Linked DNA regions of Homo sapiens: region 2 is linked to region 1. Evidence: promoter capture Hi-C in 16 types of primary human blood cells and fetal thymus (Javierre and others, 2016). All regions are on one chromosome and are shown on one strand. Each heading gives the region's core, a stretch centred on a gene start or on the middle of the fragment in contact. The rest is flanking DNA. Distances are from core to core; before and after follow the strand shown. Region 1 holds the start of CLEC18A (C-type lectin domain family 18 member A). Region 2 overlaps WWP2 (WW domain containing E3 ubiquitin protein ligase 2).

Region 1 (4,834 bases), core at 1,573-4,072:
TCAGCTATGCATGAGCTGGAGAGGGGTGGGATAGATAGAGACACAGGTGATAAAGAAAATACAGCAAAATGTGAACCCTACAATCTGGGTGGTGGATGTAAACCCTGTAGTAGCCTCACCTGGGGAAAGCTGCCTTGCAACAATGAGGCTGCCCATTCTCCAAACCCACCCCAGCCACCGAGCAGGCTCCACTAAAAAGTCTGAACCCAGGAGGGAGTACCATGGAAACCAAGTTGCAATGCCCTGGTTAGGGGCCCAGCAGAGGGGTCATCCCAGCTCTACGCCATTGGATACTGAGTTTCAGGAGTGGGAGTGCCATCCTCAGGGTCACACAGCGTGTCGGTTCCAGCCTAGGTCTTCCAGTGTCTCATTAATCTTTTATCCACTCAGCTTCTCTTCTGGCCCATGAACCTTGCTCTCCTGGGACTCTTTTTTTTTTTTTTTGAGGGGTCGGGGGTGGGACAGAGTCTTGCTCTGTTGCCCAGGATGGAGTGCAGTGGTGCCATCTTGCTTCACTGCAACCTCCGCCTCCCAGATTCAAGCAATTCTCCTGCCTCAGCCTACCGAGTAGCTGGGACTACAGGCACCCACCACCCTGCCCAGCTAATTTTTGTATTTTTAGTAGAGACAGGATTTCACCATGTTGGCCAGGCTGGTCTCGAGCTCCTGACCTCAAGTGATCCGCCTGCCTTGGCCTCCCAAAGTTCTGGGATTACAGGCATGAGCCATCACACCCGGCCTGGGACTCTTCTTGCAGTGAGCCAGGGCCATGGGACCCTTCAAAAGTTGCTCCACCCTAATCCCCAAAATATCTTTTTCTCCCGCCTGTCCCAAGTGCCTGGCATCATACTATATGGGTCAACTGGCCGTGTTTGCCATGGAAGCCCAATTGTAGGAAGTGGGTCTTTTATCACCCGGCATAGCAGAGCTGTGGAAACTGCACTGGGAAAGATCAGGATGTGAATTAAAGCGTTGGGAATGGGAAGGCAGAGACCTTGGATTAGCTGGGATGCTCCATGCACTCGCTGAGTGACCTTGGACAAGCCCCTTAGACACACTAAGCCCGTTTCCTCATCTACACGACGGGCATCCCATCTGCTACTGCACCAGGTTCTTGTGGCAATAACTTGAACTCACACATGCAAACAGGCTTTGTGAGCTCCATAAACACAGGTGGCTTGGCCAGGTGTGGTGGCTCATGCCTGCAACCCCAGCACTTTGGGAGGCCAAGGTGGGAAGATCCCTTGAGCCCAGGAGTTGGAGACCAGCCTGGGCAAGACGATGAAATCCTGTCTCTACCAAAAAAAATGATAATAATTAGCCAGGCATGGTGGCACACACCTGGTCCCAGCTCCTTGGGAGGCTGAGGTGGGAGGATCACTTGGGCCCAAGAGGTCAAGGCTGCAGTGAGCTGAGATTATAACACTCCAACCTGAGTGGCAGAGTGAAACTGTCTAAAAAATAAAAATAAAAATACATCAAAAAACAGGTAGCTATTAAGCATTGCTAGGACCCACACGCAGTGACCCTGAGGGTGCTGGGTTTCTGTTTGAGGGAGAAGAAACTCCTGAGCCCCTAGGTATTGTGGGGGACATGCAGTTCCAGACCGCCTTCATGGCCTGTATGCCTGGCCTCATCCCCATCCCTGGCATCCATGACGATAGCCACATTCCACTGGTGTTTCCCCAGGAAAGCCAACCCTACCTGCATCTCAGCAGAGCTTCCACAGAGTTGGAACCCCGCTCCGAGAGGGTGTGGGCTCAGGGGCCAGGGGTCACACAAACTCCAGAAGGAGGACGTAGTTGGTTTGCAAGGCTGTCCTTTGCCCTGGTTGAATAACCTTTGGTCTTCCCCGAGAGGAACGTGGGCATTAGGTTGCAGCCCGCAGGAAGCCATGTATTTTCTGAGAAACTTGGCCCATGGTGCAGATCTGCTCCAGCTCACTCTGGTGGGATCACGCCAGCCACGGCCGGGCCACGGCACATCATGGCAACGTGCTGCCCACCTGCTACGCCGCCTGTTTTTCTAGAGGCGGACGTGATCCCAGCAGGACTGGAGTCAGCCCAGGGCATCACGTGCTCTGGTCCCCGCCTGCTTTGACTCCTCCTGCCTCACTCCCCCCCTGGCCTGTAGTCACGTGGGTGAGGGTGGTGGGCACCGGGGCTGGGCCCAGCCCCCGACCCTGCCCAGACAGACTTTCCTAAGGCACCCTTTTCCTCGTGCAGGTGCGGCCTCAGCCCACCCCCCTTTGAGCCCACAGATTGCACCCCTCTGGTGTGCGGTTACCTCTTGCCTATGTTTAATTCATGGCTGGGGGGTTGGGACGAGCTTCCCAAGAAAGGAAAGAACTCCCCTGGGGTCTTGCCCAGTTCCTGCTCACCAGAAGGACCATAGCCGAGGTCCTCCTCCCAGGGCCCGGGGCTGGGGAGCGGAAGCCATCAGTGGGCTCGGAGGACACTGTCCCAGCCAGGACACGGCCATCGGTCACTAATCTGCAGCACTGGAATGTCCGCGGGCCAATCAGCGGGGTCTCTGGGGGCTCCCCAAGGGTGCTAATAATCCCACAATGATTAGCAGGGGCCGCGGGTCAGTGCACGCCACTCTGCCTGCTGTCGGGGGCGGGCTGGCCAGGCCGAGGCCGGAGCAGGCAGGCATCCCCCGGAGTTGTCTCTTTTCATGCCAGCGCCAACAGGAGGCTGTCTGGACACACTGATTACTCACTCACCAGCCTCCCTCTTTTGTCCACCAGCCCAGCCTGACTCCTGGAGATTGTGAATAGCTCCATCCAGCCTGAGAAACAAGCCGGGTGGCTGAGCCAGGCTGTGCACGGAGCGCCTGACGGGCCCAACAGACCCATGCTGCATCCAGAGACCTCCCCTGGCCGGGGGCATCTCCTGGCTGTGCTCCTGGCCCTCCTTGGCACCGCCTGGGCAGAGGTGTGGCCACCCCAGCTGCAGGAGCAGGCTCCGATGGCCGGAGGTAAGGGACACCTGGTGAGGAGGTAGGTGGAGGCACCATTACGAGCTCTGAGGAGTGGGTGCTAGGAGACTTCTGGAAGCCCGGTCCCAGGCCTGAGCCCCAGGCCGTGCGGGTGGTTTAATGAGGAAGCCCTGGGACAGCCCGGGGGCGGTGAGGGGTGGATGCTGGACTGGGGAGGAAGGAGGAGGAAGGAGGACCAGGGCTGGGGTCAAGGAGGAACGCCGAGGGGCGCTGTGGCTGGGGCCTGGAGAAATCCGTGGCCCGGAGGAGCCCCAGACAGGGGCCTGCGGGAGCCAGGGCTGGCCCCTACACCCAGCCCGCACCGCTGTTCCCTCCCGCCACCCCAACCCCAGCACTCAGCCCACGCCTGCTGTACCTGGTCTCTCTCTCAGCCTCGCTCCATTGCTATGCCCCACGTCCCCTGCACCCACCACACTCCTCTCCCATCTTGTTTTCCAAGGGCAGGGACACATGCTTATTCTGCCGTGTGTTGGGTTCAGGTCCCCCCATCCTCGGGCTGCCTGACCTTCTCTCCCCACCCCAGCCCTGAACAGGAAGGAGAGTTTCTTGCTCCTCTCCCTGCACAACCGCCTGCGCAGCTGGGTCCAGCCCCCTGCGGCTGACATGCGGAGGCTGGTGAGTACCCGACCCAGCTGGGCTCTGCCAGGGGGGTGGCCGGAGGCGCGGACCCCAGAGGGCGGCTCAGGAGGCCACGCCTGTCCAGGTGCCCTTCCACTTGACCAGGGTGGGCAGGCACAGCCAGCCACCTTGTCCCTGAGGGACGGAGGCCCTGGTTGCTGGGGGTCTCTGCAATTTCTTAACCCCCCACCCTCAGTTCAGGAGGTCGGGCCCCTTGGCTCCCACTCGCCTGAAGGGCAGGACCTTGGGCCTTCCCTGGCATCTTGTTGTCACAGAGACCAGGAGCCACAGGAGGAGCCGGATCCCCTCCTCCAGGGAAGGGGAGCTTCACGAGGAGCCCTGCAGGATGGGCGGCCGGGCCAGGGAGGGAGAAGGTCGTGCTGGGCTGGGGAGGGGCTTCTGTGCGGCAAGGACCCAGCGCCTCCTCCTGAGCTTATCTGAGCCACGAGGACGGGCCTTGCCCATGTTCTCTGCTCACTCACTCGTCCACATTTTCCACATTTTCAGCAGGGGCCGGGGGTCGGGGGTATAGAATTCCCCACCAGCCCGGCTGGGGCTGCGGGGTTGGGACTGTCATCTGGAGGCTCAGAAACGCTGCCCCCCCTTGTCTGGGACCCCAGCAGCCCCAGCCCATGTTAGCAGGCCAGGGAGCCAGGGCAGGGTGGTGGGGGCGGGAGGGTTCCCCATGGCTGCTTCCCATGAACTCCTCCAAGGCAGGCGGCCACAGTGGCGACCTTGAGCACTCTAGGGTCAGTTTCCCAGGAGGTGGGGGTGGGGTGGCTAAATGCGGGGGGTCGCTTCTCCCCGATTCCCAGCCCTGAGTGGCTCTGCCTCTCCTCAGGCTCAGACCCTGGGCAACCAGGGGTGCTCCCAGCTGTGACCTCCGTGGTTGGGTACTCCTGCCTGGGACCCCAGGAGGGGCTGCGGTGGTCGTTGGCTGGCAGCTGGCACCCTTTCCAGGGCCCTTTTGTCAAAGTCCTAGAAAACTTCATTTCCGTAAAGGTGCAAATGGAGCTCCATGGCTCAGCCTCCCTCGTGGCCCGGCCCCGAGCACCCTCCGGGCCTCTAGGGCTCCAGGGCACCCCCTCTTTGGACACAGTGGAGACTGAAGGTCTTGTGGGGGTGGAGGGCTGCTGAGGGACCCCGGGGAGCCCCCAGCTCCTGGCCCCAGCCTTCATCAGAGGTAAAACCCCGATGGACATTAGTGCAGGATGAA
Region 2 (4,834 bases), core at 918-3,417, 37 kb before region 1:
GAAAGCCTCAGCGATTAGAGGCACCAAGGATGGGTGTGGAATGAGATTAAAACCTTGGCTGGGCTCGGTTGCTCACGCCTGTAATCCCAGCACTTTGGGAGGCCGAGGCAGGTGGATCATGAAGTCAGGAGATTGAGACCATCCTGGCTAACACGGTGAAACCCCATCTGTACTAAAAATACAAAAAATTAGCCAGGCATGGTGGCACACACCTGTAGTCCCAGCTGCTTGGGAGGCTGAGGCAGGAGAATTGTTTGAACCCCAGCGGCGGAGGTTACAGTGAGCTGAGATTGCACCACTGCACCACTCTAGCCTGGACGACAGAGCGAGACTCCATCTCAAAAAAAAACAAAACAAAACCTCATTGGTTTTAGATCAGTTGGAAGATGAGTTGGAAGTTTGTGCAGGGAGTTAGATTCACACACACACACACACACACACACACACACACACACACACAGCCTCATGACTGCCTCTGACATTGAGAAGCTGCAGAGAGAGTAGGAGGACCAGGTCGGGGGACACAAACTATAGCTGAAGGCCAGGATGAACTCAGAAACAAGAGATTAAATGCGGATGCTATCTCCATTCCCCAGGCTGAAAATTGGAGGGTAGTTTTGTTTGTTTGTTTGTTTGTTTTTGCTGGGGAAAGTGATAGTCTAAGAGAAAGAAACATAGATTGTGATATTTGGGAACCTTCTAGTGAAATAGCTGAGACTCTTCCTGGTCACTCTACAGTCTGCAGCCCTCATCTGAGGATACAGAACTCAGTCAGTGTTTTAGTGGCTCACTGTTAAATGCGAATGAACACAGCTGGGCACGGTGGCTCACACCTGTAATAGTAGAACTTCCAGAGGCCAAGGCAGGAGGATCTGGAAGTAGAACTTCCAGAGGCCAAGGTGGGAGGATCGCTTGAGTCCAGGAGTTCGAGACTAGCCTGGGCAACATATGGAGAACCAGTCTCTACAAAACAAAAAAAAAAAAAAAAAAAAAAAAAAAAAAAAATATATATATATATATATATATATATATATATATATATATTTTTTTTTTTTTTTTTTTTTTTTTTTTTTTTTTTTTTTTTTTTTTGAGACAGAATTTTTGCTCTCGTTGCCCAGGCTGGAGTGCAGTGGCGCAATCTCGGCTCACTGCAACCTCCACCTCCCAGGTTCAAGCGATTCTCCTGCCTCAGCCTCCTAAGTAGTTGGGGTTACAGGCACATGCCACCACGCCCAGCTAATTCTTGTAATTTTTTTTTTAAAGTAGAGATGGGGTTTCACCATGTTGGCCAGGCTGGTCTCGAACTCCTGACATCAGGTGAGCCACCCACCTCGGCCTCCCAAAGTGGTGGGATTACAGGCGTGAGCCACCACGCCCAGCCAAAAAAAAGTTTTTTTTAAATTAGCTGAGTGTGGTGGTGTATGCCTGTGTTCCCAGCTACTTGGGAGGCTGAGGTGGGAGAATCAGTTGGGCCTGGAAGGTTGAGGCTGCAGTGAGCCGTGATTGTGCCACTGCGCTCCAGCCTGGGTGACAGAGCAAGACCCTGTCTCAAAAAATTATAATAATAAATAAAAATAAATGTGAACAAACAGCCAAAGATGAGCAGACAGAAAAAAGAGACTTGGTGAAAACAATATAGGAAGCTGAAAAACAGCTTTGGAAAGGAAAACCAGATTATAATTGATATCCTCAAAGATTTGGGAGAAAATAATGGCATCTGTGCAACAAGAACAGGAGGCCATGAAATGGACCAGGCAGAAAACAGGAGCTTTTAGAAATTAATATATATGACAACAGAAATGAAAAATTCAGTAGAATGGTTGAAAGGTAAATTTGGGCTGAGCATGGTGGCTCACGCATGTAATCCCAGCACTTTGGGAGGGCGAGGCAGGTGGATCACCTGAGATCAGAAGTTCGAGACCAGCCTGGCCAACATGGTGAAACCCCCGTCTCTACTAAAAATATAAAAAATTAGCCAGGCGTGGTGGTGCTTGCCTATAATCCCAGCTACTCGCGAGGCTGAGGAAGGAGAATCGCTTGAACCTGGGAGGCAGAGGTTGCAGTGAACTGAGATCACACCATTGCACTCCAGCCTGGGCGACAGAGCGAGACTCTGTCTCAAAAAAAAAAAAAAAAAAAAAAAAAAAAAGAAAGTGATAAATTTGGAGATAAGAAGATGAGAAGATGTGACCAAGACATTCAATATCTGAAGAATAGTTCTTTAGCAAGAACTTGCGGAATAGCAGGAAAGAACAGAGAAACAGGCAATAGGAAATCATTAGAAAAGAAAATTGCCAGAACTCAAGTATCCAGATTCAAACAGCTCACCACACGCCTAGCCCAGAGGATAAAAAAAGACTCACCCCAAGGCTCATCTGATTGAATTTCTGAGTGCCAAGAGACAGCCTCAGAAACTTCCAGAGGGAAAAAACAGAGTACCTAGAAAGGATCAGGAACCAAGAGTGCCATCCTTCTTCTCAGCTGTAGAGCAGGACCTTCACAATTCCGATGGAAAATGATTTCCTGCCGGGCACAGTGGCTCAAACGTCTAATCCCAGCACTTTGGGGGGCCAAGGCAGGAGGATCGTTTGAGTCCAGGAGTTCAAGACCAGCCTGGGCAACACAGTGAGACACTATCTCTTAGAAAAACAAAAAATTGGCCCCGCATGGTGGTGCGTGCCTGTAGTCCTAGCTACTTGGGAGGCTGAGGTGGGAGGATCACTTGAGCTGGGAGGTCGAGGCTGCAGTGAGCCATGATCATGCCACTGCACTCCAGCCTGGGCAACAGAGCAAGACCCTGTCTCAAAGAAACAAAAAAGAAAATGATTTCCTGTCTAGAAATCAACTTTGAGTTATTTTAACATTTGAATATGAGAGTAGAAGTCAAGGCATCTTCAGACATTCTGGGCTTCAAAAAATTAACCTTGATACATCCTGTCTTGGAAGCTACTCCATGATTTATCGCACCAAATCCCACCAGGAAGCCAAGAAAGAAGAATGAATGGGATGCAAGACACAGGGAACTTAACCCCGAGGCCATGGAATCTCCCAGGAGGAGGAGAAGGGAAGGCAAGTCAGGTCAAGGACACAGAGCGGGTGTGAGATGGACACACAACTGTCCCCGTCAGATGAGGGAGAGATGTGGCCGAGAGAGGAAGGCCACTGCCAGGCCACCTGTCCCGTCTGAGAATCTGGGGATGCATCAGTGATAGGTTCTTGAAAACCACACAGAAGACGACAAGGAAGTTCTCACCTCCAGAAAAAAGAAAAAAGTTGTTACAAGTAAGGAAATGTACTTATAGTATTCTACATTGTCATCCAAACCCTGAATATTGATTTAACGGTGAGTTTCCATATTGAGAGGACGAGGGGAGGAGATAGTTGAGGGATGGAATGCAATACCTATATCCTCATCCCTCATCTTTGGTAGTGGAAAGTCCATAAGCGATAGCAAATATGGCAAAAATCAAGAAATAATGAGCCAGGCTTGGTGGTGCACACCTGAGACTACTCAGCTACTCAGGAGGCTGAGGCTGGAGGATAGTTTGAGCCCAGCAGTTCAAATCCAGTTTGGGCAACATAGTGAGATCCTGTCTCTGTATTAAAGAAAAGACAAAAAGCAATGAAATAGACATGTTATTTAGAGACACAGATGTACACATATACTAGTAGAAGCAATTGAGAGTTGAAAGTGGTTGCCTTCGGGGAACAGGAGTCAGCAATGGGGCAAGAGACCATCGTTTTTCATTATATTCCCTGCAGTCCTGTTTATGTTTCAAAACTATATACATATGACTTCGGGCCGGGTGCAGGGGCTCACACCTGTAATCCTAGCACTTTGGGAGGCTGAGGCGAGAGGATTGCTTGAGCCCAGGAGTTTGAGACTAGCCTGAGCCACACGGGGAGGCTTCCATGTCTACAAAAATTTTTTTAAAAAATTAGTTGAATGTGATGGTGCATTCCTGTGGTCCTAGCTATTCAGGAGGCTAAGGTGGGAGGATCACTTGAGCCTGGGAGGTGAGGCTGCAGTGAGCCATGATCCTGCTACTCTACTCTAGCCTGGACTAACAGAGTGAGACCCTGTCAAAAAAAAAAAAAAATCTTTGGTAACAAAAATAAATAAAAATCACTAGTTTAGACAAATTATGAGAAAGCTAGGAAGGTTCCAGATTTTTGTGAGCCTTGTGTACTTACTAAAGGATTTTGACTCAAGGGCAATGGGGAGTCAATGGAAGTGTTGTTGTTGTTGTTGTTGTTGTTTGAGACAGGATCTCACTCTGTCGCCCAGGCTGGAATGTAGCAGCATAATCATAGTTCACTGTAGCCTTGATCTCCCAGGCACAAGCAGTCCTCCCACCTCAGCTGCCCAAGTAGCTGGGACCAAGGGCGCACACTCCACCACCCCCAGCTAATTTTTAAAAAATATTTTTGTAGAGATGGGGGTCTCCCTCTGTTGCTTAGGCTGGTCAATTGAAGTTTTTGAGCAGGAGTGTGACCGAAGGGCTCAGTCTAGTGGGTTACTCTGATGGCTATTTGTAGGCTGGATGGAGTGGGGAGGTTAATTCTGGGGTAGGAGCAGTAGTCCAGGGGTGAGGTGATACAGATCTGGACATAGGAATGGAAAATGGAAAGTCAGTGGCAGGGAGACTGAAAAAGCAGCAGTCAGGCTGAATGATTGATAGCAGCGGGAATGATGTTGGCCTGGTTTCATCCCTGGGAGGAGAATTGACATGAGGAGACTGAAGAAAGGCCTGGGTGTGGGGAGAGAGCTGTGGCATTCAATTGAATGAAGGGTGACAGCTGGTCATGAAGGTGAGGCACTCTAGCAGGCAGA

The links. Contacts are between HindIII fragments. The CHiCAGO score rates a contact against its expected background, and 5 or more counts as called.
Region 2: a contact is called between a fragment that was not itself captured here and the fragment with the promoter of CLEC18A in region 1, in 4 of 17 cell types (endothelial precursors, M2 macrophages, M0 macrophages and 1 more). The highest score is 7.0, in endothelial precursors.

What each region holds. Positions count from the first base shown.
Region 1 is chr16:69,948,512-69,953,345 of GRCh38, forward strand. CLEC18A (C-type lectin domain family 18 member A) reads left to right here and starts at 2,823. Exons shown (of 12, transcript NM_001370523.4): 1 at 2,823-2,979; 2 at 3,524-3,615. The coding sequence starts at 2,856. RefSeq lists enhancers at 1,530-2,143, 2,144-2,756, 3,983-4,596. The HindIII fragment of the contact is 42,237 bases long and covers 1-4,834 here.
Region 2 is chr16:69,911,952-69,916,785 of GRCh38, forward strand. All of the region lies in intron 9 of WWP2 (WW domain containing E3 ubiquitin protein ligase 2), which reads left to right. Among named protein-coding and RNA genes, the nearest start is that of MIR140, 19 kb to the right of the region's middle. The HindIII fragment of the contact is 6,162 bases long and covers 1-4,834 here.